Regions from separate parts of the Homo sapiens genome. Here all the other regions are linked to region 2. The links are contacts of gene promoters, found by promoter capture Hi-C in blood cells and fetal thymus (Javierre and others, 2016). All regions are on one chromosome and are shown on one strand. The core of a region is centred on a gene start or on the middle of the fragment in contact, and the rest is flanking DNA. Distances in the headings are between cores, read along the strand shown.

The links. Contacts are between HindIII fragments. The CHiCAGO score rates a contact against its expected background, and 5 or more counts as called.
Region 1: a contact is called between a fragment that was not itself captured here and the fragment with the promoter of TMED3 in region 2, in 1 of 17 cell types (fetal thymus). The highest score is 5.7, in fetal thymus.
Region 3: a contact is called between a fragment that was not itself captured here and the fragment with the promoter of TMED3 in region 2, in 1 of 17 cell types (naive CD4 T cells). The highest score is 5.1, in naive CD4 T cells.
Region 4: a fragment that was not itself captured here is called in contact with the fragment with the promoter of TMED3 in region 2 in 1 of 17 cell types (fetal thymus); the score reaches 5.0 in fetal thymus.
Region 5: a contact is called between a fragment that was not itself captured here and the fragment with the promoter of TMED3 in region 2, in 1 of 17 cell types (naive CD8 T cells). The highest score is 5.6, in naive CD8 T cells.
Region 6: a fragment that was not itself captured here is called in contact with the fragment with the promoter of TMED3 in region 2 in 1 of 17 cell types (naive CD8 T cells); the score reaches 5.7 in naive CD8 T cells.
Region 7: a contact is called between a fragment that was not itself captured here and the fragment with the promoter of TMED3 in region 2, in 1 of 17 cell types (naive CD4 T cells). The highest score is 5.2, in naive CD4 T cells.

Annotation. Positions count from the first base shown.
Region 1 is chr15:80,063,185-80,066,033 of GRCh38, reverse strand. The region is part of intron 1 of ZFAND6 (zinc finger AN1-type containing 6); the gene reads right to left. Among named protein-coding and RNA genes, the nearest start is that of ZFAND6, 4.9 kb to the right of the region's middle. The HindIII fragment of the contact is 4,753 bases long and covers 1-2,849 here.
Region 2 is chr15:79,309,606-79,312,364 of GRCh38, reverse strand. TMED3 (transmembrane p24 trafficking protein 3) reads right to left here and starts at 1,253. Exons shown (of 3, transcript NM_007364.4): 1 at 948-1,253. The coding sequence starts at 1,115. RefSeq lists silencers at 1,080-1,149, 1,360-1,409. The HindIII fragment of the contact is 2,251 bases long and covers 98-2,348 here.
Region 3 is chr15:79,996,720-79,999,575 of GRCh38, reverse strand. No RefSeq gene overlaps it. Among named protein-coding and RNA genes, the nearest start is that of BCL2A1, 27 kb to the right of the region's middle. The HindIII fragment of the contact is 6,034 bases long and covers 1-2,856 here.
Region 4 is chr15:80,144,116-80,146,910 of GRCh38, reverse strand. No RefSeq gene overlaps it. Among named protein-coding and RNA genes, the nearest start is that of FAH, 7.5 kb to the left of the region's middle. The HindIII fragment of the contact is 2,021 bases long and covers 346-2,366 here.
Region 5 is chr15:80,161,710-80,164,437 of GRCh38, reverse strand. FAH (fumarylacetoacetate hydrolase) reads right to left here. Exons shown (of 14, transcript NM_000137.4): 5 at 2,102-2,192. Among named protein-coding and RNA genes, the nearest start is that of FAH, 10 kb to the right of the region's middle. The HindIII fragment of the contact is 7,230 bases long and covers 1-2,728 here.
Region 6 is chr15:80,178,310-80,181,009 of GRCh38, reverse strand. It overlaps FAH (fumarylacetoacetate hydrolase), which reads right to left. Exons shown (of 14, transcript NM_000137.4): 12 at 785-886. Among named protein-coding and RNA genes, the nearest start is that of FAH, 27 kb to the right of the region's middle. The HindIII fragment of the contact is 4,346 bases long and covers 1-2,700 here.
Region 7 is chr15:80,082,129-80,084,831 of GRCh38, reverse strand. All of the region lies in intron 1 of ZFAND6 (zinc finger AN1-type containing 6), which reads right to left. Among named protein-coding and RNA genes, the nearest start is that of ZFAND6, 24 kb to the right of the region's middle. The HindIII fragment of the contact is 3,047 bases long and covers 1-2,703 here.

The sequences.
Region 1 (2,849 bases), core at 192-2,691, 750 kb before region 2:
GTTGAAAAAATAAAAACTGCAACTGCAGGGGTTTTTAAATATATAAACATAAAAATATTACTCATCAAAATTTAAGTAATATAGCTAAAGCTATGCTCAGAGGAACATTCAATAGGATTACATTTTTTCATTATAAAACATAAAATATTATAAAAGTTGCAATTTTTTTAAGTTAAAAAATTCAAAACTGGCCAGGCACAGTGGGTCACGCCTGTAATCCCAGCACTTTGGGAGGCCGAGGTGGGTAGATCACCTGAGGTCAGGGGTTCGAGACCAGCTTGGCCAACACGATGAAACCCTATCTCTACTAAAAACACAAAAATTAGCCAGGTGTGGTGGCACACCCCTGTAATCCCAACTACTCAGAAGGCTGAGGCATGAGAATCACTTGAACCTGGAGACAAAGGCTGCAGTGAGCCAAGATCATGCCATCACACTCCAGCCTGGGCAACAGAGTAAGACTCTGTCTCCAAAAAAAAAAAAAAAAAAAAAAAAATCAAAACCAAAACTAATTTGAAGCCCCAAAAGAATAAACTAAAAAATCTGAGGACTAACAAAGCAACAACCAAAAAAGGGGGATGGGGGGGAGACTTAAACAATAACAGAAACACACTTGTTTACAAAATGAAAATACCATGCCCCATGTATACAAGTGTACACTGGTACCAAATCATTGATATTTCAATAAAACCTAAAAAGAACCAAGAAGATGTGCATTTAACATATGATAAAGGCAGCTTTATTTCAAGGCAACAAGTTGTTTTTTTTTTTAGTGGGGCCAAAATTTTTAAGGAAAAATAAGGGAGGTTATTTCACTTCACATATGTCAAAATAAATCCCAGATGAACAGAAAAAGACAGATGTGAAATATGAAACCGTAAAAGAACTAGAAGAAAACTTAACTGGGTAGGAGAAGCCTTTAAATATAAAAGCAAAGTAGAAGCCATAAAAGAAAGTATTAACCTAATTTTCTTAAAAAGTAAAAACCCTTGCCTGTTTTTTTGTTTTGTTAAAAAAAAAAAAAAAAAAAAGGGGGAGAGAGAGAGAGCAAGAGAAAAGACAACACTGTTAGGTAAATGAAGAGCCAGGAAAAATATTTGCATGCCAGGCCCAGTGGCTCATACCTGTAATCCCAGCACTTAGGGAGGCCAAGGCAGGTAAATTGCTTGAGCCCAGGAGTTTGAAACCATTCTGGGCAACATGGTAAAACCCCATCTCCACAAAAAATTGCCAGGCATGGTGGGGAACGCCTGTAATCCCAGTTACACAGGAGGCTGAGGCGGGATAATCACTTCAGCCCAGGAAGTAGAGGCCTCAGTGAACCATGACTGCACCACTGCCCTCTATCCTGGGTGATAGAGCAAGACCGTGTCTCAAAAAACATTTTAAAAAACCCAAACATACGTGTGTGTGTGTGTGTGTGTGTATGTATACATGTGTATATATATTTGTGTGTATATGTATATTTGCAGTATATAGCAGAGTTGCTATCCTAAATCCTAAAAATATAAAAAGTTTAAAAGGGTATCACAAATATAAAACACCAGCCAAAATGGGCAAAAGATAAACTAGAAGATGTCCAATATCCAGGTTTATTTACCATCATAATTAATTAAAGAAATATATGATGATTCCTATAGAAAGGGAAGGAAAGATGGAGGGTAGATGGATAGACAGATAATGCTGGTAAAGATATACAAGAAATGTGTATTCTGTCATATTTTTAGTCAAATTTGATATTAAAGTTTGATGTTAGTCAAACTTTTAAGGACAAAATTTGGCAATATTTATGAAAAGACTTTAAGAAATGTTCATATGCTTTGATTCAGTGATTGTAAGACAGACTAGATCCGAAAGAAACAATGACAAATACATAGTAGTAGCTCTTATATTTATCACACTACTTATAATAATAAGAAAAAAATAATAAACTTAAGTTACACCCAACAGATAACTAGGTTATAGTACTTTTATAAGATGGAACTGTCCATGTGGGTAACCACTAGTCATATGTGGCTACCGAGCACTTGAAATGTGGCCAGTCTGGGTCAGACATGGTGGCTCACGCCTGTAATCCCAGCACTTTGGGAGGCCAAGGCAGGCAGATCATTTGAGGCCAGGAGTTCAAGACCAGCCTGGCCAACATGGTGAAACGCGGTCTCTACTAAAAACATAAAAATTTAGGCCGGGTGCAGTGGCTCACACCTGTAACCCTAGCATTTTGGGAGGCCTAGGCAGGTGGATCACCTGAGGTCAGGAGTTTGAGACCAGGCTGGCCAACATGCTGAAACCCCCTCTCTACTAAAAATACAAAAATTAGCTGGGTGTAGTGGCATGCACCTGTAGTCCCAGCTACTGGGGAGAGGCTGAGGCAGGAGAATCGCTTGAACCCAGGTTGCTGTGAGCCGAGATTGTGCCACTGCACTCTAGCCTGTATAACAGAGTAAGATTCCGTCTCAAAAAAAAAAAAAAAAATTAGCTGGGCGTGGTGGTGCATGTCTGTAGTCTCAGCTACTCGGGAGGCTGAGGAACAAGAATCACTTCAACCTAGGAGACAGAGGTTGCGGTGAGCTGAGATCGCACCGTTGCACTCCAGCCTGGGAGACAGAGCAAGACTCTGTCTCAAAAAAAATACAAAAAAAGAAATGTAGCTAGTCTGAATTGAGATGTACTTTAAGTGGAAAATACACACCAAATTATAAAGACAGTCTAAAAAAAGACAACTATCCCATCAACAATTTCTTATACTGATTACATGTTGAAATAATAGTTTTTGGGTTACATAAAACGTATTTTCACCAGTTTCTCTTTTTTTCATAATGTGGCTACCAGAAAATTTTAAATTACTT
Region 2 (2,759 bases), core at 4-2,503:
TAACCCAGTCACAATTTGCATGTTGTCCACAAAGACCTGAAAGTGGACAAATCAGTGACTGAGACTACCACATAGAAGTTGTCTCCAAGCGCAAGCTTCCTTCAGTGCCTCTAACCACAGAGGAACTGGTCAAATAGCTTGCCCCCATTCCTGCTGCCCGTGGCCCCTCATTTCTGAAGTGCCTATCAGCATGCGTCCACAAGCAGATAGCTGTCTGAGTATGATGCCCACTTGGCCCCCAACCCTAGACCTGCTCACTAAATATCGGGGCAGACTACTCACTCAAGACCTGCTCCTGTCACCTGTGGGCCACGGGATCTCTCAAAGGAGACAGGAATACAGGAACTGAGCTTTTCTAAGCCATATGGCAAGAGCCAAGTCTTGCAGCCACACCGCTCCTTGTAAACACCGCCAGGCCTCAATGGCTGCACTGATCCCTCCTTTCCAAAGTGCCCATTCTCACTTCTGCTGCCCTCACCTCACTCCAACTTTAAACGCTGGAGAGGGGAGGAATAAACTAAAACTATGAGCCCACTTCCTCTTGCTGCCATTTTTCAGTACTCGAAGGCACAAGGTGGTCTAAGAGACTGGGGTTAGAGAGCCTGTGTCCAGCCGATCAGAACTGCCGTTGGTTAGTGTCTCGGGGGCCTGCGGATATCTCTTTGGCCAGCTCCCCAGGCTGCGGGATCCGCCCTGGCGTCCCCATCCCGGGCTCGCACCTGCGGCGCTGACTACCTCCTCGCTGGCCAGGCTCGTCTCGGGTGGGCCCTGATGACCCAAACCTTCCTCCTCACGGGGAAGTCAACTGGTCTCCGGGGACTCCCACCCCATGCAGCCTCCCTGTAGCCTGTGGCTAATTCGAGCGCCTCCAGTCAGGGGCTAGCCAGTGTCCAGGTGAGACCTGGGAGTGGAGGGAGAAGGGAGCGCTGCCGGGCGCCCGGCCTCACCTGGTAATCCAGGGAGAACTTCACGCCCTGCTCCACCTCCTCGTGGAAGCACTGCTTGGCGTTGTCCGGCAGCTCGAAGGTGAGCTCGGCCCCGCAGGGCTGCTCGGCCCGGCGCAGGAGCAGCAGCAGAAGCAGCACGGAGGCGGAGCGCGGGACAGTGCTGCCCATGATGCTCTCGGTCCCGTCTCGAGGGCCGCGGCTCGGGCGCTGCGCCCCCGGCGGGCTGGGGCGACGACTACCGACCGGGTCCTAGGAGGATGTAAGGGGATAGACGTGGCACCAGCGGAGCTCTGCGCTTCCGGGAGGGCCGGCGGCTCAGTGCGCAGCCGCGCGCTCAAAGTGGGCCCGGGCACCTTCCGCCCGCTGCGCGTGCGCGCTGGCCGCGCTGCGCCAGGGGACACGCCCCCCCCACCCCCCCGCAACGCCTCTCCCGGCTCGGAGGGTGGGTCTCCGCGGAGGGGAGGTGGGGCTCCACCTAGCGCGCCCCTACCCAGAAGAGGGAGAAGCCCTCCCCGCTGTTCTGCGCGCTCCCGGACCCGCAGGGCTGAGCATCCCCCCAGGTCGACCCAGGTCCACCCTCCAGCTGCTGCAGCACGAAGCACGTGGGATTTTACTCCCTCTATAAGGCTCCGCTTTTGACAGGCTCTGTAACTTCAGTCTCACACTTCCCTCGAGAACCAGTCTCCTTGTCTTGAAATGGGTGTGCCCAAACCTAACATCCACAGTAGTTAGGGAGCTAGGTGAAAGATAAGGGAACGCTGGGAACCCGATTAACACTCCTTTCTTCATTCCCATACCCTTCCCAAGGTGAAAGAGTGTGCGAAGGGGGTGGGGAGTGGGGAGAGTAAGTAAAGACCCATCATTACACCTGCTCTGGGAAAAACACGAGCGTGCTCACACACAAACGATCTCATGAAAATCCAAGTAAAGTCTCGCAGCGACTTCAGGTATATTTTGGCTGTCAGGCTCGTTGAAAATTCTTTTTGCACAAAACTGTCATTTTTGCACTTTGACTTCTTAAAAGCTCTGAAAGCAGATAAATTGGTTTACTGTCTTACCCATGACCACTGACTTAAGATTCTTTTGTATAATCGTAACTATAGGTATAGTTTTATATTCACTGTGATCCAATAAACAAAGAGAAAAGACGTAGATTGTGATGTCGATACTCAATAAATAACTTATTCAGGAGAGCATTACTAGACGTGGTATATCTTGACTTCAGGAAAGAATGTTACTGCCCATATAGATTTCCGCTGGCCACATTCACTATGGATGAACACGCTAATGTGTGAAAGCAATCTGTAGGCTTGGAAATAACATGCATGCATAACATAGTTAATAATATTGACTGGCTCAGTGACAGGCATGGAAGAGGTGTTTAGTAGTGTCCCTTAAGCTTCCTTCCCTGGCACGGTCCTATTTCACGTTTTTTTTTTTTTTAGGAACTGATAGAAAACATGGAAGTAATAATCATCTGATCTAGATGAACTAAGTGGAGAAATAAATGACAGATATAAAACCACAATTGGCCGGGAGTGGTGGCTCACGCCTGTAATCCCAGCACTTTGGGAGGCTGAGGCGGGTGGATCACGAGGTCAAGAGATCGAGATCATCCTGGCCAATGTGGTGAAACCCCTTCTCGACTAAAAATACAAAAATTAGCTGGGGGTGGTGGTGCGTGCCTGTAGTCCCAGCTACTCGGGAGGCTGAGGCAGGGAGGCAGGGGTATTGCTTGAACCTGGGAGGTGGAGTTTGCAACCTGGCGACAGAGCAAGACTGCGTCTCAAAAAAACAAAACAAACAAACAAA
Region 3 (2,856 bases), core at 187-2,686, 690 kb before region 2:
TTACATTGAATAGATATTGTTAAAATATAGAGTCTTCCAATCTATAAACACATTATATATCTCCATTTATGTGAGTTTTCTTTAATTTCTCTCAATAATATTTAATAGTTTTCTACAGAGAGCTTTTGCATATCTTTTATTAGATTATTGCTATATATTTGATATTTTTGATGCTATTGTAAATCACATTCTTTGGAAAGGCATCTTATTGGAGAAATAATTTCAATATATACAAAATAAAGATAATAATGTAATAAACTCTCACCCATACATCATCCAGTCTTAATAAAACTCAACATTCTGCTATTCTTTTTTTTTTTAATTTTGAGACGGAGTTTTACTCTCATTGCCCAGGCTGGGGTGCAATGGCGCGATCTTGGCTCACTGCAACCTCCGCCTCCCGGGTTGAAGTGATTCTCTTGCCTCAGCCTCCTGAGTAGCTGAGATTACAGGCATGTGCCACCACGCCCAGCTAATTTTGTATTTTTAATAGACATGGGGTTTCTCAAACTGGTCTCGAACTCCCAACCTCAGGTGATCCGCCCGCCTAGGCCTCCCAAAGTGCTGGGATTACAGGTGTGAGCCACCACGCCTGGCCTCTGCTATTCTTGTTTTATCTATACCTCCCCTCACCTCTACTCTATTATTATTTTCTTATAGTTCGTTATTCTTGGCAAAATGTACATGCATTGAACTGCATAAATCTTAGCCTCAAAATTTACAAATAGATATCCTTGCATTAAACAGAGCCATACCAAGATGGAGAGCACTGCCATCACCCAGAAAGTTCCCTCAAGTCCTCTCCCAGGCAATCTTCCCTGACCTCAGCAACCACTGTTCAGATTTATTTTTCACCTTAGTTTTTTTCTGTTTTAGAGCCATATATGCCCATCAGCTAGTCTACCGTTAATATTTTACTCTACTAGCTTTATCATATAACTACAGATCTTTTCATCCCTCTATCCCTTGATTAATTCATTTTAGTTTATTTCACTTTTTTATTTTGTTTAATTTTTTTTGAGACAGAGTCTTGCCCTGTGGCCCAGGCTGGAGTGCAATGGCATGATCTCAGCTCACTGCAACCTCTGCCTCCAAGGTTCAAGTGATTCTCCTGCCTCAGCCTCCTGAGTTGCTAGGACTACAGGCATGTGCCACCATGCCCAGGTGATTTTTGTATTTTTAGTAGTGATGGAGTTTCACCGTGTTGGCCAGGCTGGTCTCAAACTCCTGACCTCAGGTGATCCTCCCTCCTTGGCATCTCAGTGTTGTGATTACAGGCGTGAGCCACTGCACCTGGCCTAATTCATTTAATTTTGGCCAACTTAAATTTTTTATTTTGTTTTGTTTTTTGAGACAGAGTCTCGCTCTGTTGCCCAGGCTGGAGTGCCGGGGCATGATCATAGTTCATGACAGCCTCAAAATCCTAGGCTCAAGTGATCCTACCACCTAGGCCTCCAAAACAATGGGATTACGGGCATGAGACACTGTGTCTGGCCTGATTTTGGTTAATTTTAAAGTAAATCACAGATATCAGTATACTTCACCCAGGTAGTCAGCATGCATATTATTAACTAGAATTCAATATTTGCTTATGGTTTTTAATTTTGTTGTAAAATTTACAGTCAATTAACTGCAGATGAGATTCGCCTCATGTGTGTACATTAGTTCAATTTTGACTAATGCATGTGTAACCCAAACCTCTTCCAAGATATAGGATATTGCTATCACCCAGAAAGTCCTCTTATATTCTTTTAAAATTATTTATTTATTTACTTATTGAAATGGAGTCTCACTCTGTTGCCCAGGCTGGAATGCAGTGGCACGATCTTGGCTCATTGCAACCTCCGCCTCCTGGGTTCAAGTGATTCTCCTACCTCAGCCTCCTGAGTAGCTGGGATTACAGGCACCCACCACCATGCCCGGCGAATTTTTGTATTTTTAGTAGAGATGGGGTTTCACCATATTGGCCAGGCTGGTCTTGAACTCCTGACCTTGTGATCCACCCGCCTCAGCCTCCCAAAGTGCTGGGATTACAGGTGTGAGCCACCGCACCTGGCCTTTATTTTTATTTTTGAGATGGAGTCTCGCTCTGTTGCCGGGCTGGAGTGCAATGGTGCAATCTCAGCTCACTGCAACCTCCGCCTCCCGGGTTCAAGTGATTCTCCTGCCGCAGCCTCCTGAGTAGCTGGAACTACAGGTGTGCACTACCACGTCAGGCCTTTTTTTTTGCATTTTTAGTGGAAACGGGATTTCGCCATGTTAGCCAGGCTGGTCTCGAACTCCTGACCTCAGGTGATCTGCCTGCTTTGGCCTCCCAAAGTGCCAGGATTACAGGCGAGAGCCACTGTTCCCAGCCTCCTCTTACATTCTTTACAGTCAATCTTCACCTTTGCTCCTCAGAGATATGCACTCCTCTGATTTTTTTTCCACCATAGATTAGTTTTGTCTGTTTTATACTTTCATATAAATGGAATTATACAGTATTTACACAGTATTTACCTTTTTATAAGGCTTTTTAAACTTAGCATAATATGTTGACATCTATCTGTGTTGCTTGTATCAATAGATCAATAGTTCGTTCTTTTTTTTTTTTTTTTTTTGAGACGGAGTCTTGCTCTGTTGCCCAGGCTGGAGTGCGGTGGTGCAATCTTGGCTCACTGTAACCTCCGCCTTCTGGGTTCAAGCAATTTTCCTGTCTCAGCCTCCTGAGTAGCTGGGATTATAGGTGCCCACCACCACACCCAGCTATTTTTTGCATTTTTAGTAGAGATGGGGTTTCACCATGTTGGCCAAGCTGGCCTCGAACTCTTGACTTCAAGTGATCTGCCCACCTTGGCCTCCCAAAGTGCTGGGATT
Region 4 (2,795 bases), core at 107-2,606, 830 kb before region 2:
TTCCACAGCCTCTGCAATACTTGCTGTCTTTTGTTTTTTTGATAATAGCCATTCTAACAGGTGTGAGATGATATCTCATCGTGGTTTTATTTTGCATTTTTCTGATAATGATGTTGAGCATTTTTTCACATACCTGTTGGCCATTTTTATGTCTTTTGGGAAATGTCTATTCATATCCATTACTCATTTTTTAAGAATTAGGTTACTTGTTTTCTTGCTATTGAGTTGTTTGACTTCATTATTTATTTTAGATTCTAATTCCATATCAGATGTGTGGTTTGCAAATGTTTTCTCCCACTTCCTAGGTTTTTTCTTGTCGATTGTTTCCTTGGCTATACAGAAGCTTTTTAGCCTGATATAATCGCATCTGTCTGTATTTGCTTTTGTTGCCTGTGCTTTTGGGTTCATATCCAAAAAATCATTGCCCAGACCAATGACATGGAGCTTTTCCCATTTTCTTCTAGTTTTACAGTTTCATTTCTTAAGTTTACGTTTTTAATCCATTTTGAGTTGATTTTTATATATGGTGTGAGATAAGGGTCTAATTTCATTCTTCCACATGTGGATATCCAATTTTCCCAACATCATTTATTGAAGAGACTGTCCTTTCCCCATCACGTATTCTCAGCACTTTTGTGAAAAATCAACTGGCTGTAAATCTGTGGATTTATTCCTGGGCTCTCTATTCTGTTCAATATGTCTGTTATTATGCCAGCACCATGTTGTTTTGATTACTATAGCTATATAGTAGATTCATTTTGTTTTGTTTTGCTTTGCTTTAGAGACAGGGTTTTGCTCTGTTCTCTGGCTGGAATTCAGTGATATGATCACGGCTCACTGCAGCCTCAACCTCCCAGTGGCTCAAGTGATCCTCCCACCTTAGTCTTCTGCATAGCTGGGACTATAGGCATCTGCCACCATGCCTGGCCAATATTTAAAAAAAAAATGTAGAGATGGAGTCTAGCTATGTTGTGTAGGCTGGTCTCAAACTCCTGGGCTCAAGTGATCCTCCTGCCTCAGCCTCCCGAAGTGCTGGAATTACAGGCATGAGCCACCACATCTGGCTGCTTTGTAGTAGATGTTGAAGTCAGATAGTGTGATGCCTCCAGCTTTGTTCTTTTTGCTCAAGAGTGCTTTAGCTATTCAGCGTCTTTTGCAGTTCCATACATGTTTTAGGATTTGTTTGTTTGTTTCTGTGAAAAATATCGTTACAATTTTGACAGGGATTCCATTGAATTTGTAGATTGCTTTGGGTAGTATGGACATTTTAACAATATTAAGTCTTCCAATCTATGAACATGGGATATCTTTTATGTTGTTTTTTTTTTTTTTGAGACGGAGTTTCGCTCTTGTTGTCTGTCCAAGCTGGAGTGCAGTGGCGCGATCTTTGCTCACCGCAACCTCCACCTCCCAGGTTCAAGCGATTCTCCTGCCTCAGCCTCCAGAGTAGCTGGGATTACAGGCATGCGCCACCACGCCTGGCTAATTTTGTATTTTTAGTAGAGACAGGGTTTCTCCATGTTGGCAGGGTGGTTTCGAACTCCCAACTCAGGTGATCTGTCTGCCTCGGCCTCCCAAAGTGCTGGAATTACAGGCTTGAGCCACCGCGCCTGGCCATATCTTTTCATTTATTTCTGTTTTCTTCAATTTCTTTCATTGATGTTTTCTAGTTATCAGTGTACAGGTCCTTCACCTCCTTGGTTAAATTTATTCCCAAGTGTTTTGTTTGGTTGGGGGTTTTTTGGTAGCTATTGTAAATGAGATTGTTTTCTTAATTTCCAAAAATCCCTTCTGCTACTTCTATTCATCCCCTGGACCGCTGGCAGCCACTTATCTCTTTACTGTCTCTGTAGTCTTGACTTTTCCAGAATGTCATATAATTGGAATCATATAGTATGTAGCTTTTAAGATTGGGTTCTTTCACTTAGCGATATGCATTAAGATTCTTCTATGTCTTTTCCTGCCCTGAAAGTTCCTTTCTATTTTTGTTGAATACTGTTTCACTGTATAAATGTTCCACAGTTTGTTTGTTCACCTATTGAAGGACATCTTGGTTGCTCCCAATTTTTGGCAATTAAGGATAAAGCTGCTAAAATGTCAGTGTGCAAGTTTTTGTGTGGACACTTTTGCTTTTTAACCAAGTATACTTTATTAAATCATTAAAAAAAATTTTTAGAAATGGGGTCTCACTATGTTGCCCAGACCAAACTCAAACTCCTGGCCTCAAGTGACTCTCCTACCTCAGCCTCCTGAGTAGCTGAGGCTGCAGGCTTTTTTTTTTTTAATTGCTATCAGTGTATCTTCTTTGATATCTATTCAGATATTTTGCCCATTTTTAGGTTGGACTGTTTTCATACAATTAAGCTTTTAAGAGTTTTTTGTATATGTTAAATGAAAGCCCTTTATGTGTTTTGCTAATTTTTTCCAAGTCTGTGGCTTGTCTTTTAATTTTCTTAACAGCAGCTTCTGCAGAGCAGTTTTTAACTTTAACAGAGTCCAAGTCATCAATAATTTTTCTTTCCCAAGTTATGCTTTTAGTGTTTTACTTAGAAAAATCGAAACCAAACCTTGAATTTCTTATATTCTAAGTTTTACATTTTTGTGTTTTACATTTATGTCTATGATAAATTTTGAGTTAACTTTTGTGAAAGGTTCAAGGTGTCTAGATTGACTTTTTTTGCATGTAAATGTACAGCTGATCACTACTGCTTGAAAAAGTATTCCTATGAAAAAGACTTTCTCCATGAATTGTCTTCTCTTCTTTGTCAAAGATCAGTTGACTATATTTGTATTGG
Region 5 (2,728 bases), core at 87-2,586, 850 kb before region 2:
GATTAAGTTAGGGATCTTGAGATAGGGATACTGTCCCTGGTTATTTGAGTGAACCCTAAATGTAATCACAAGGGTCCTTATAGACAGAGGCAAGGTCAAAGGAGGAAGTAGGAAATGTAACAGCAGAAGCAAGTGGTTGGAGTGATATGAGGAAGGGGTCAAAAGGCAAGGGATACAGGCAACCTCTAAAGCTGAAAAGTCAAAGAAATGGGTTCTCTCCTAGAGCCTCCAGAAGGAACCAGCCCTGCTGACACCTTGACTTTAGCCAGTGAGACTGATTTTTGACTTCTGGCCTCCGGAACTAGAAGAGAATATATTTGTGTTTTAAGCCACCAAGTTTGTGGTAATTTGTTACAGCAGCAACAGAAAACTAATACAGTGTGTATGTACATATATATTTTTTGTGCTTTTTTTATAAAAGTGAGACACACTTTACCTAATTGCCTATAGTTTACCTATTTCACTTAACACAGATCAGTGCACATCTTTCTTGATCTAAATCTTTCACTAGCTGCAAAACATTTCATATTGTGAATAGACCAATTTTTCAACCATTCCTCCACCGATAAGCATTCAGATTACTTCCAGTTCTGGGCCACTAGAAACTCTGCTAATTAACATCCTTGCTCTTGGATACAACCCACTGGTGCTTTTATTTCTGTAGGATAGATGCATGAAAGTGAGCATTGCAGGTCAAAGAGTAGACACATTTTTAATTGTAAATGTTTACATATTTTCTGTAGTGTTTGGGTTAATTCCAGTAAATATATGTTACCTTTATAATAAAGACTATGTACATAAAGCTAAAAAGTCACAGCTGTGGGCCATCTTGCATCAAACATGGCTAGAGAAGGCCTGTTTACTCTTATTCTGCAGAAGGACATGGGGCAAGGATGGCTGCGGCCCCCACACTCGGTTTCAGACACAGTCAACACTCATTTCCCAGGTCCCGGCTCTCCTCTCACTTCCTGGTGCCCCTGCCCTTTGGCCACTGGGATCCTGGCACACAGGTGACAGCCAGCTCTTCTGGGGCTGGGCAGTCCACTGGGTCATCACTGCCAAGGACACTCATATAGACACTCAGCCCATCAGATAGACAAGTTGAAGCTGGCTGGGGACAAATACAGCCTGGAGCCTGTACAGTGCAAGATTCTCAAATATTTGCGCATCTCACGTGGAAGCCTGGAACCTGGAGCCTGGGTTCTGGTCTCAGATTCACCCCTGCCTCATTCTGCAACCTTGGCCTTGTTGTTCAACATCTCTGGCTTGGAACTGCTCTCTCTCCCTTTCTTTCTTCCTCATCTTGGTTCTAACAGACCCTCCCCTCATGGCATAGCCTACTGGAGACACTCACTCGAGAGAGAGTAAAGCCCCGTCCCTAACCCAGCTCCTGTGTGTGACTGATGGCACTGGGGCCTGGAGTGTATGCCTGCCACTGAGTCCAGGCCCTCTTCAGTTCCAAGGAACCATCACATCCAGGGGACAACACAGAACAAAGGGCAAGGATCCCAGCTCTGCATCCTCAGCTTGGTCAATGGCCTGATCTGGGGGCTGGGAGACAGGCTGTGGCCCTGTTGTGCTCAGGCAAGTTGATCCTTCTCTGAGCCCATTTTCCTGTCTGTAAAATGGGGCTTACAATCATGGCCTTGTGACATCAGAGAACTACTACGAGGATCAAACAAATGAATGAAACCGATCACATGTTGAGGAATATACAGCACTGGGCACATTTGAGGATTCTCATTCATCAGAAAATGTAAGTATGGAGCATGCTAGAGTCTAAGACTTGCCCATAGTACAATAATACACAGCTTATAAATGAAAGACTCCAGAAGGAGCATAGGGATTAAGGGAATCTAATTCCAACCCCTGCTGTCCAAGGAAGTTTAAGGGACTTGCCCTTCGATCCCACAGCAAGTCCTAAGCCAAGCTGAGCAGGAGACCAGAAGCTGAGACCACTGCTTCCAGAGGTTGCAACATCATAACTGCTTTTCCTCCCCAGTTTACTTTAAGAAGAACTTGGCAGCTCCTGAGACAAATATGCTGCTGGAAATGAAAAGAAAGACTTTGAACTTATGCAGACATTTGGCCCAGTTCATACCAATTTGGCATCAACGCATTCTCCTTGTCCCTGAACATGATTCCGACGTTGGTAGCATGCTGCCGAGAGGAATAGAAGTCTGTGTAGTCTCCTGCAGAGGAAAGACCCAACAGATCCCATCAGCAACCCACATGCCTCAGGAAGAATGGACTGTTCCAAGCACTGGAGCCACGAGTGTGCACACAATACTGTTTACACATCCAGAGCTCAGCCTGCAGCCAGCAATGGCAGCACCAAATGCAATATAAAATATCCTCACTGAAGATTTGTTTTTAGAGCCCTCAGCTGAGAAACAAATAAGAAATCAGGAGTCCAGACTTTCTGAAACTGACAGTGGAATGTGAACACCAAGTGGCTGATACCACCTCCCTTCTCAGGCTCCCCACTTTTCCCACACACAACTGCCATTCCCGAGTTCCCACAGGCTCCCTCACCACGCCTATACTGATTGACTTCTCCCTTGTCCCTGTGTATTCAAATCCTGGCAACTCTTTGAGGCCCGCTCCTCCCTGAAGCCCTCCCTGCTCTCTCTAGCAGGATCTCTTCCCCCTCCAAATCCCCTCCCCTGAATCCTTCTGGGGCAGGCTTCGCTTCCCACTGGTGCTCCAGTTATGTGTGTGCACATCT
Region 6 (2,700 bases), core at 1-2,500, 870 kb before region 2:
TGAATTTATGCCTTGGCTCTGGCATGGACCATGCTCAGCAAGACCTGGGAGTCCCGAGAAGTGGCAGGGGGCCCTCATGCCCCTCAGAGACCCTGCCTCGGCCTTGGTGGGATCACTGCAGAGATGCCTTTGAGACATGGAACTCTGCCCCTTCTTCCTGTGGGGACAGCAATGGTTCCACTAAGGACATCGCTTGTTTAGGAATCAGTGAATCCCTGACCAGAGTGCCCAGTGCCCCCTGCAGCATCCCCTCCCTGCTCTGGAGGCTGCAGTTTGCCCAGATATCGTGATGCTTAACACCCTCCTGTCGACAGCTCAAGGAACAAGAGGGCTCGGCCAGCCCCCTGCAGGAAGTGAGTGACACATGCACCACCCCAAGGTCATCATCTCTGAAGGTTCTGTGACTCCCGCAGGCTTACAGGGGGACAAGCGGGTGGGAAGGGGCACAGCAGCATGGCCACCTCATCCTGGGAGGGTGTAGTGTGAGATGGTGACAACCAAGACACTATCACTGTCTCCTGACTCCTCCCCACGTGTCACTGCGCTGCTCCCCTACAGAGGCAGAGACCCAGGCTTCCGTTCTCACACCAGTCTCTTTAGGTTTGAATTTGGATGAGAAGTCCCTCCTGCACCCAGAGAGAAAGGCTACGAGGAAGACAGAGTTGTGAGATACACCCACCTCGGGCCTGAAATCTCTTCTCGAGGCTGAGCTGAGGGCCCTTGGGGCTGTGTGGGGAGCAGGGATGCTCTGCGTGGGCAGCCCTCAGTGCAGCCAGATACTCACCGGCCCGCTGATGGTCCCAGAAGCCAGGAGGTCCCCCGGCCGCAGGTTGCAGCCGTTGACAGAGTGGTGAGTGAGCTGCTGCAGCATCGTCCAGTACATGTACTGCAGGCAATGGACGCGAGGTGGAATGAGCAGCGGCAGGCTTAGCCTAGCATCCCGGAGGCAGCTGGGCACAGCCTGCCCTGCTCACGACCGCCTTCCCTGGCCTTTCCCCGGTCCCCAGCTCCCCCAGCCAGCTCTCTCCAGTCCCTTATAGTAAGGACACATTGTCCTCCTGGGGAGCTGCCCAGAGACCTCCCCCAAGCTCTTCCATCTCCTTCACAAACTCCAACCTCAGCTCCTCTGCTACCTCAAGCCCACACTGACCACCTTCTCCAAGCAGCATCCCCTAAGGGCTGACCTTACTGCTCAGTCCCTCAGCCTGCAACATGCCCTTGTGTACAACACTCCACTCTGCCCTGGGAACACCCTCCAGTCCCGTATTGGGAGAATCTAAGTCCACACCACAGCAGAGGCTTCTCGTGAGCAAAGCCCTCGCTCCCATTCTCCCATGCCGGGCCTTGGGATGGACACTGGGCAATGGAGCTGAACGATTCAAACACGATGTCAGGGCAGGCCAAGGAGCGAGGGAGAGCTGTGGGCGGTCAGGCTGTGGGCAGAGGGGGCCAAGGCACCACGTGCCCACCGAGACGCTCAGATGCAATGCACGCCCATGCCTGTCCCAGGCCACAGCTTCTCACATTGCCATTCCTACAGCCACACATCCCGGCATAGGAAACCCAAAAGATGGATTCTTGCCCACGAGCCCCTGCAAGGAGGCCCCTTAATTTCTTCTTACTAGCCCTAAGGAGCCCAGAATAATATTAAATTAGAAGGGAAATTAGGGAAACTAGAAATAGTTCAATGATTCAGAGGATATTCAAAAGGCCAAGAAACAAATGAACCATAAACATATGACTAACATGCCCAGCTGCATTAGTCATTAGGGAAATGCAAACTGAAGTCACAATCCCAGGCACGGTTTGAACGAAAAGGCAAACACCACCAGAGCTGACGAGGATGTGGAGCAGGCAAAATGCTTACATGCTGCTAGTGGGAGTATATACTGGTATAACCACTTCAAAAAACTGTTTGGAAGTACCCCTAGGCTGAGTCTATGTGTACTCTATGACCCAGCAAGCCTATTACTGGATATACACTCAATAGAAATGTGCACATATGTGCACCAAAAGGTGTGTACTAAAATGTTCACAGTAACTCTGTGATAGCCAAAAACAACGGAAACAACCAAATGTCCATCGATTGTGGAATTGATGTGACTTACAAAATAAGTCAGTTGGCCGGGCGCAGTGGCTCATGCCTGTAATCCCAGCACTTTGGGAGGCTGAGGCGGGCGGATCACAAGGTCAGGAGATCGAGACCATCCTGGCTAACATGGTGAAACCCCATCTCCACTAAAAATACAAAAAAAAAAATTAGCCGGGCGTGGTGGCGGGCACCTGTAGTCCCAGCTACCCGGGAGGCTGAGGCAGGAGAATGGCATGAACCCAGGAGGCGGAGTTTGCAGTGAGCCGAGATCGCGCCACTGCACTCCAGCCTGGGCAACGAGCGAGACTCCATCTCAAAAAAAAAAAAAAATTAAGTCAGTTGTGGAATATTTATACAGTGCAACACTATAAGGCAATGAGAAAAATGAGCTGTCACTGCAAAGAGCAACAGGGTTGAATCTCACAGATCTAACACTAAAACAAAGATGCCAGCTACAAAAGAATACATGCTACTTTATGATGCCATTTCTATAAAACTGAAAAACAGAAAAAAAATAATACATGGTAGCAGAGGTCAGGAGAGGAGTGACCTTTGCTGGAGGGAGTGATGAAGTGACCTGGAGGGCCCCACGGGGCTGCTGAGGTGCT
Region 7 (2,703 bases), core at 66-2,565, 770 kb before region 2:
TCACCTGGTCCTCAGATGCTGGGACAGCATGTATTATTTATCTCTGTATCCTCAGAGTCTAATACAGAGTCAAATCTGCAGGTTAGTAAAAGCAAAAACCTTCAATGACTTGAAGAGAAAATCCTAAATCTCAAAATTCAACATAGCTCAGGAACTTGCTCCAAGAAATAGCTTTGCCTAACTTAGTATTGTTTTCAAGGAAACTATCATCTCTCTGCCAACCCGGCTTAACGCCTTGGTCATTTCTGACACACTGCCCCCACGTAAATTAGTAATTAAATCAATACTCCTCATCTAACCCTTTTATGCCATTACATCTGGTTTAGGCCCTCCTCCCTCCCACTTCTTGGCCAGTTAGGCCTCAGTTATTAGGAAGTATATCCTTTTTCCAAAATGTCTGGGACCAGAAGAGTTTCAGATTTCAAATTTTTTTGTATTTTGGAATATTTGCATTATATACTTAACAGTTGAGCATCCCTAATCTGAAAATCCAAAATCTGAAATGCTCCAATGAACATTTTCTTTCAGCATCGTGTCTGCACTCAGAAAATTTCCAATCTTGGAGTATTTCAAATTTCGAATTTGGGATGATCGACCTACACTTCGTAAATCTCACTTAATCTCTTGCCTCTCTGAACTGATTTGCAGCAACTATGTGTGTGCTGTAATCATGCCTAACCCTGATCTAGGCTTAAACAGACTTCATAAGAAGCAGAGTGCTATAATACTGAGACAAGGCCTGGATTCAGATCTGAGCTGTTTCTTCTTAGCTGCACAATCTTGAACCCATGCCACTTTACTGCCTAAGAGGATATTTAAATCCTCTCAGGGTGATCAGACCACGCCCCAAATCAGTAATTCAAAGGTTTTCCATCACTAAGAGAATAGGTTTAGCTCATCTTGTCTATGAAGCCTCATTCTCCTGCCATTTTTCCTCCTGGGCCCTAAAGCTCTCAACTTCCATGCTTTTGAGAAGGAATTTCGCTCTGTTGCCCAGGCTGGAGTGCAATGGCATGATCTGAGCTCACCGCAACCTCCTCAGCCTCCTGAGTAGCTGGGATTACAGATGCTCACCACCATGCCCAGCTGATTTTTATATTTTTAGTAGATACACGGTTTCACCACGTTGGCCAGGCTAGTCTCAAACTCCTGACATTGGCTTCCTGAAGTGCTGGGATTACAGGCATGAGCCACTGTGCCCAGCCTAACTTCCATGCTTAATCATCTCCATGAACACGCTTTTCTCTAAAGTTACAAGGCTTACCTAACATCCCTTTCACTCACTCTGGTTAACTTTTATTTATTTTCTAAGTCTTAGCACAGCCACTTTACAGTCTTCTCTGACTCTGCTCCAATGATAATCTGGTCTCTTTTCTCCCTCATTATCATTTAATATAAATTCTCTGCATGTTTCCCCAACATATCATAAGTTCTTAGCATAGCACCCAGTAGTTGCTTAAGAAACCTGTGCAGAATTTATTATTATGGATAATACCACCACCAATTCACAGGGCTGGGAGGTTTAAAATAACGTATGTATAGGCCAGGTGCGGTGGCTCATGCTTGTAATCCCAGCACTTTGGGAGGCCGAAGCGGGCGGATCACGAGGTCAGGAGATTGAGACCATCCCAGCTAACACGGTGAAACCCCGTCTCTACTAAAAAATACAAAAATTAGCCAGGCGTGGTGGCAGGTGCCTGTAGTCCCAGCTACTCGGGAGGCTGAGGCAGGAGAATGGCGTGAACCCAGGAGGCGGAGCTTGCAGTGAGCCAAGATCGCGCCACTGCACTCCAGCCTGGGCGACAGAGTGAGACTCCATTTCAAAATAAATAAATAAATAAAATAACATATGTATATATGTATAGGATACATAGTAGGTGCTCAGTCCACCATCATTTTTTCTATCCCATATCCACCTCAGAGAAAACTTTATAAAAGAAAATTAAGGGAGGTGAGGGCAGTTCAATTGAATAATAAATTTCTAAGATGGAATTCTGATTTTTAGTTCATAGGAAATCAAAGAACCAGAAGATATAAACTCAGCAAAACAAGGAGGGAAGCATGGTCCAATCCTCATAATAAACTCCTTAAATATCTGGAACTCTTACCAGTTTCCATCCTTTGACACTCACTAAAATAAGAATGAATAATCCCTGCTATATCCATCTGTCAATCTTTCCTACCTTTCCCAGAAAGTCACTTGACAGTGATATTGAGATACCAAACCCAAAGGTTTAGGAACATTAGTAAAATTACTCACATTACCACAGAACTTCAAAAACAACAACTGGTAGTCTCCCTGCCTTGAATTCCTCTCCCTAAGTAAACCTTCCCTCTCTAAGTAAACCTGAATAGCAAGATCATGCTCTGGTATCAGCCTTCCCAATTTCAATCTAGGCTCTGCCACATAACCTTTGTCAATTTGTCCTATCTGTCTATAAACCTGTTTAACCTTTGTCAATTTTTCCTATCTCTCTATAAACTTAGCATTATCATCTGCGAAATAGGCACAACAATAATACCCATCTCATGATATTGTGAGAACTTAAAGTTAATGTGTCTGATAGTGTCCAATATGAGTTGCAATTAAATTAATATTCCAAACCCTGTTTTTACCACTTATTTGCATAGAAGCCTTCATAATTCACCACTGCTCACAGTCACACCATTCCCATATCCTATGTATACTCCATACCTCTTCCC